2 separate regions of the Homo sapiens genome follow, and region 1 is linked to region 2. The links are contacts of gene promoters, found by promoter capture Hi-C in human tissues and cell types (Jung and others, 2019). All regions are on one chromosome and are shown on one strand. Each heading gives the region's core, a stretch centred on a gene start or on the middle of the fragment in contact. The rest is flanking DNA. Distances are from core to core; before and after follow the strand shown.

Region 1 (3,295 bases), core at 728-3,227, 510 kb after region 2:
AAATAGATGGGTGGTGAAAAACATTCTTAAAAACTCACAGAAAGACACCAGCAATCATCTGGTGTCACACAGTATACAGCAATAACCCTCTTTTACTGACACAATACTGGGTAATTTTTAACAAGCATTCTGTTGCACAAAAGTAATATTTTCCAAATACTCTTGTAAATGGACTGATAATTTTCCTTCCAAGTCTCAGAGCTGTTGCCTGATTCACATTTCTCTGAGGGGAAGCAGGGTCCTGTGTGTGGATTTGTGTCTGTGGATGTATGTGCATCCCCAACAAAAAGACCCCGCTGGTATCAGCAGTCACTTCTGCCTCTAGGAAATGGATCATGTGCTCTTCTCTGGAGTGGGGCCTTTTTCCTTCTCAAGCCGTTGTCACAGACCCCGCTTTGTAGTTTGACATGAAACCCCGTTCCTCTGTAGTCTTTGTCTCCCACTGTGTGAGAAACCCAGATCAACTTCCAAAGTGCCCTCCCCTGAAATCAGACCTCTCAACCTCCCAAGGACCTAAAACAGCGTAGGCCTGATTCCTGCTTAGAAATGTTTTCTTGAAGGGGAGGGGAAGTAGGAGAGAAAGAAGGGGTGTGAGATACAGGGGGGTGTGTGTGTGTGTGTGTGTGTGTCAATTACTGATAGGAATTCACATTCTGGAAAACAAGCCACCAAACCAACCCGGGTTCAAGGTTTCGGGTTTATGATGACAAGCCTCTTTGTTTTGTAAAACTGCTATACTCACTAGCATCACCCCAAAAACCATACGGGAGTCAGATGTCTGCTTAACAGCTTCAGGTCAAGAAAAAACCTTCGGGTTTCCAAATTGGTGACTCCCCTCTACCCAGGGTTCTGGATTATTTTTTTCAAGGAGTCCATATGCACTTAGGAGTCATCAATCCCGGTCGCAGCTGTCAGAATCCTCCCCCCCAAGTACTATTCATACCGGGGCTCTGATTGCTAATGATTTTACTCACAAAGTTCCCTGCAGCAATTAAAAGGAGGCAGCAGGGTAAAACAAAAAGAGGCTGGGTGGCTTCACCATAATGCAGCCTGTAAGCTAGTGAACTTCTTGGGTTCGGCTGGGATTTTCACCTCTATCTTTGTTTTGGAATGCCCACAACCCCTCCCTGCACGGACCCGGCACGGCCTTCATTTCTGGATGCACAATGCAGTACCGAGCTCCTTGGGGGTCAGCAAAACGCCGCACTGGTGTAACGCCGAACGCGCCCCAGAACCTGAGTCCCCACGGGAGTCGGTCCACGTCTCTAAATCTCGAGGCCGACACCACAGCATAACATGTCTTAGAAGTCCCCTCAAGTCGGGAAGCCCAGGGCCCGCCCGGTCCCGGGCCAGCAGTGCCTGGCTGGCGTGTGCGCCCAGAGCTGCTGCAATGACTTTGCATGGAGTGTACCCTCCACTGGGGCTGTCCTCCCGCGTCGGCCACTGCAGTGGCACCGCTCCGGGCAGGGCCCTGCACGCCGTCCTTCCCTGGCCTCGGCCCGGCCGCCGACCCCCTGCCGCCCGCGCCGCCCAGCCCCCGCCCGCCGCACCTTGGTCTCCTTCACATGCTGCTTGACGCCCTCCGGGTACCACTGGACGCGCACGTAGCCGCGGCGCAGGGGGCTGGCCCGGCCCTCCTCGTGGCCCGCGCCCCCGGCCTCGGAGCACCCCGAGCTCCCGCGGCCCTCCTCCTCGCCCTCCGAGTCCGAGTCCTCGCCGTGGATGAGGCGCACCAGCCCGAAGTGCACGGAGCCACGGTAACGGCCCGACACCAGGTCGTGAGAAAACAGCAGGCGCTGCGAGCCGGCTTCTGGGCCGGAGTCCGAGGACGGCCCGGAGGCCGAGTCCGAGGCGGGCGCCGGCGCCGGGACGGGGGCTGCGGCTGGGGCCGGGACTGCCTCCGGGGCTGGAGCCGGGGCCTGGGCTGGAGCGGGAGCTGCGGGCGTGGGGGCTGCGGGATCCGCCATAACTGCTCTGCGCGAGTCTCGGGCGGCGGCGGCGACAGCGGCGGCGAACGAGGCGCGGGGAGGCGGGACCAGCGGGCGCCGGGGGCGGGGCCATAGCGCGCTGACGTGTCCCTGCGTGGCGCCGTCGTCAGGGAGCCGGGATGCAGTTGCTAGGAGCCACCGCCTCGTCGCTAGGGGACGCTGAAGATGCCGCGGGGGGCGGGGGCAGGATGGAATCCACTAAGAAGGGGCGAGACCAGTGAGGATTCAACTAAAGGGAGCGAGAAGGGGCGGGGACCCGGGAGGAGGAAGTGGAGTGGCCACCGAGGAAGAGGGGAGTGGTCGGGGTGGGGCACAGGATGGTGGAGAGACTGTCAACAACTTTTAATGAGCTCCCTTGGCGTCCTAGCCTAGCCCCCAGGCACTGGGAGCATTGCAGAAAGAGAAAGATACTGTCCCTGTCCTCTAGGTGTTTCCAGTCTAGTTGGGGAGACAAAACAAATACACATTAAATAGATAACAAACAACTCCAACTTGTAAGGCTATAATAGATACGTGTAGAGCATATGTATAATGCACTGTATTCAGGAATTCCAAGCAGTTCGAACGTCATGACCCCTCAGAAGTTGACCCAGAAGCTGGTGAAGGAGGCCCAGAGAAAGGTAACAAAAGGATCAGTGGTCCCAGTGGTTTGGCTACAAATCCATGCAGATAAATTCAAAGCTCCCTGAAGCCAAGAATGAATGGCAAGAGGTAGTATAGTAAGGTAGCTAAGAGTGGGGACCACGGATTCCAATTTTTGGCACTGCCACTTACTAATCTATAAAAATAGGCACACTGATTAACTTATTTTCATCTTAATTTGCTCATCTGTGAAATAGGGATGATAATAGCAATACTCATCTCATTGGGCAATTGGAGGATTAAGTGAAGTAGAACAGTGCCTGGCATTTAGCTCCTTCGATAAGCTTAACCATTGTTGTACTATTTCCAAACTCCCTGCCTAGACTAAATTCCAGACTGGCAGAACTGTTATGGTCTGCTCCATATTGTCATTTTAAAATATAAAAAGTAGGCCGGGCGCGGCAGCTCACACCTGTCATCCCAGTACTTTGGGAGGCTGAGGTGGGCGGATCACGAGGTCAAGAGATTGAGACCATCCTGGCCAACATGGCGAAACCCCATCTCTACTAAAAATACGGAAAAAAAAAAAAAATAGCTGGGCGTGGTGGCACATGGCTGTAGTCCCAGCTACTCAGGAGGCTGAGGCAGGCAAATCGCTTGAACCTGGGAGGCTGAGGTTGCAGTGAGCCCAGATCGCGCCACTGCACTCCACCCTGGGCAACAGA
Region 2 (3,646 bases), core at 539-3,038:
CCACTGCACTCCAGCCTGGGCAACATGCGAGACTCTGTCTCCAAAAAAAAAAAAAAAAAAAAAACGTGCTCTGGATAACTTAATGGGCTTTCTGAGGCTTTGAGATTACTTGAAAAAAGGGCAGTGGCCATCATCCCTTACCCTGAAAGCCGATGCAGCAAGTGGCAAGTACTCATTTCAGAAAGGAGGTGGGTGCCTGGCACCAAGGCTGAAACCCTTTCCCAGGCAACACCCATGACTACTTTCTAGGCAGCATTTAGCACAAAAGCAGGTATGAACTCTGGTTACTCTTTGATATTCTTTTTCTTTTTAAAATTTTTTTTTTCGAGACGGGGTCTCACTGTGTTACTCAGGTTGGTATTGAACTCTGGGGCTCAAGCAATCCTCCTGCGTTGGTCTTCCAAAGTGCTGGGATTACAGGTGTGAGCCACCACGTCCAGCAACACGATTTTCACTGACAGTGGAAATATTTCCCTTTACATAGGCAGTAAATCTGACCCATTGAGAACATTTTCCTCGGAATTAGCTGTCTCCCTCCCCCTCCTCCACTTTACCAAAACCCACCTACAGGATGTCCTGGAAGAAAGGAGTCAGAGGGGTCCTCTTTATGTCCCAAGTATTGGCCTGTCCTGTTATTGGAATGCAAGGGTTATCTGGGCTTACCTACAGAGCCCACCCTGAATACATGTGTTTTCTTTTTTTTCTTTTTTTAGACGGAGTCTTGCTCTGTTGCCCAGGATGGAGTGCAGTGGTGCGATCTTGGCTCACCACAACCTCAGCCTCCCGGGTTCAAGCGAATCTCCTGCCTCAGCCTCCCGAGTAGCTGGGAATACAGGCACATGCCACCATGCCCGGTTAATTTTTGTATTTTTAGTAGAGACGGGGTTTCACTGTTGGCCAGGAGGTCTCGAACTCCTGACCTCGTGATCTGCCCGTCTCGGCCTCCCAAAGTGCTAGGATTACAGGTGTGAGCCACCACGCCTGGCCTTCTTTCTTTTTTTTTTTTCCAGACAGGGTCTCGCTCTGTTGCCCAGGCTGGAGTGCAGTGGCACGATCACAGCTCTCATAGCTTACTGCAGCCTCGACCTCCTTGGGCTCAGGCGATCCTCCAATGTCAGCCTCCCTAGCAGCTGGGACCACAGGCACACGCCACCATGTGCGGCAAATTTTAAAATTTTTTTTGTAGAGACGGGGGTCTCCCTATGTTGCCCAGGGTCGTCCCAGACGCCTGGCCTCAAGTGATCCTCCCGCCTTGGCCTCCCAAAGTGTCGGGATTACAGGCGTGAGCCACCGTGCCCGGCCTTGTTTCTTTTTCTCTGCAATGGCGACTTCACGACCTACAAGTCCAAATGTGTCCCATAACACATCAAGGAACTTCTGGCATCTCCTATCGATCCTGTACGGGCTTCTCAGACTATGGGGATTTTCTAGGCTTGGTTTGCCAAGGCCAAAGGGCTACAGAGTAACCCCGTCCCCACATGTATTCAGCCGACTCCATGCCAGGCGTTTTACAGATCCCGAGACCACCCCTAAGCAAGACCCCTAGCCGGAGTCGCCCCTCCGTCCCGAGACTCCGCGCCCCTCAATGCGTCACCCTTCTGAGCGCCCGGCCTATCTGGCCCCGGAGCGCAGCCTGTAACGCTCTCAGCCCCGGAAGCCTCCTGTTACGCGCCGTGCCCCCGGAGGTGCGGCCGCTGGGACCAGCGCCGGCCCTGGCTCCATTCGGGTCGCCCAGCCCGGCCAGGACTGGCCTCCCGCTTCCAGCCGCTGCCGGCACCCTCAGCCGTCTGGCCTCCCGCGGAAAGGCGGGCGCGAGGCATCCTGGGAGTCGCAGTCGGCGGTCGACTCACCCGCCCTCACAGAGGAGGTGGGGACGCCATGAAGAACTACAGCTCCCAGGGAGCCGCGCGCGGCAGTTGGCGGGGCCGGGCTTCTGCCGGCGGCGGGCACGTTGCTAGGAGCTGCCCCAACGCCTCTCCGGGAAGAGGGCGCCAGGCTCAAAGGCCCTCTTGGGAACTGCCGGGAAGCTTAAAAGTTCCTCCTGCCCACTTCTGAGGGCTGACACGTGGCCGACGCGGAGGCGTGAGAAATGTGTTGATATTGGGAGGTTGACGGGTGAATCCACAAATTCACCGGTGTTTATTCCACACCCCAAAGCTTGAGGGAAGTGACTGACCTGTTTAATGATCCAATCAAAGCTGTATAGCCAGAATGAAACCCAATACTGTCGCCCCACAAAAAGATTAAGTCACATTTTTTCTAGTATGTGCTAATTATGAATTTTATTAAGGTTTATTCAATGTCACAGAGGAAAGAACGGTTTGTAGTTTTGCTTACCCGCAGTGCTGGCAGGTCACAGCTGTCCAACCATGATCCATTCACATGCTCTGGCCCCGTGCCCCTCGTCCTCCCACCCCTACCCCACAGGACACCATTAAGCCAGGGCTGGGTAACAACATATGCTCAATGCATCTTCTCAGGTGAGAACCAAACTCGAGCCACAACAGCAAAGGGGGAAAAAGGTAGCAAAGTAATTATGTGCTCCCAAGGCAGTCATTTAGTTGAATCCATAACTGGAAATAAAAAGGCATTTATGAAGTGTAGTCCGCAGTCTGAATGTGGAAGGTGGAAGATCACACATTTACTAAGAAACACTCAAAACATATTTTGGTTCAGAATTCTAAAAAATCCCGAATTTTCCATGATCTTCCCAAGACAACCAATGACCCACTTAAATTTAAGGCAAAAACACCCTTGAATCTAGGAATGTGCACATATGCAACAGCTAACATCTGGTAACTCTAATAATGTTCCTTATATGTTTCTGTGTTTACTATCATGAACCATAGGAAGAAGTACTGGAAAATTTAGTAAGTGTGGACAGTTAAAAACACTGGCCCGGCACGGTGGCTCACGCCTGTAATCCCAGCACTTTGGGAGGCCGAGGTGGGTGGATCACGAGGTCAGGAGTTCAAGACCAGCCTGGCCAACTTGGTGAAACCCCTGTCTCTACTAAAAATACAAAAAAACTAGACAGGCATGGTGGCAGGCGCTGTAATCCCAGCTTCTCAGGAGGCTGAGGCAGAGAATTGCTTGAACCCGGGAGGCAGAGGTTGCAGTGAGCCAAGATTTCGCCACTGCACTCTACCCTGGGTGAAAGAGCAAGACAACGTCTCAAAAAAAAAAAAAAAAAAAAAAGCAAAACCCCACCATCAATATTTTAAAATAAAAAGTCGTTTTAGTCAATTACAGTGTGACTTGTTCTAATCCTCCAAGAATGGAGTAGTAAAGAAACAGCAGAAATGACTTCCCTGCATTATTTCATGAAAATGATCAAAACCTTTATCTAAGTCAGAACATCAACAAGACTCTTGGTCTCAGGTCATCAGTTTCCTGGCACTCCTCCTCTCTCTAGCTGTAGTAGCAGCTACTGCTTGAAGACAACCTATATATCCCAGGCATACCCTCTACACGTATAAAAAGATGTGCAGGTGTTACAGACCACCTACACCTAATTCACTTCCTTTCTAATAAGATGGATGGAATAACTCGGAAAAGGGAAAGGAGGGATTTTGAGCCGCAGTTGTCTAAAGAATTATTGATTCACAGGGATCTCCAAGATCATGCATTTGAAGAGTTTTATTTC

Evidence for each region. Contacts are between HindIII fragments. The study calls those that stand out against the background at their distance.
Region 1: a contact is called between the fragment with the promoter of UBE2O here and the fragment with the promoter of FBF1 in region 2, in 2 of the 25 tissues and cell types used here (H1 embryonic stem cells and spleen).

What each region holds. Positions count from the first base shown.
Region 1 is chr17:76,451,175-76,454,469 of GRCh38, forward strand. It overlaps UBE2O (ubiquitin conjugating enzyme E2 O), which reads right to left and starts at 1,978. Exons shown (of 18, transcript NM_022066.4): 1 at 1,551-1,978. The coding sequence starts at 1,967. It also overlaps a transcript of AANAT not described here. RefSeq lists silencers at 1,330-1,529, 1,650-2,189, 1,984-2,152. The HindIII fragment of the contact is 12,276 bases long and covers 1-3,295 here.
Region 2 is chr17:75,939,254-75,942,899 of GRCh38, forward strand. It overlaps FBF1 (Fas binding factor 1), which reads right to left and starts at 1,789. Exons shown (of 30, transcript NM_001319193.2): 1 at 1,595-1,789. ACOX1 (acyl-CoA oxidase 1) reads right to left here. Exons shown (of 14, transcript NM_004035.7): 14 at 2,254-3,646. RefSeq lists a silencer at 1,558-1,827 and an enhancer at 1,938-2,007. The HindIII fragment of the contact is 5,258 bases long and covers 1-3,646 here.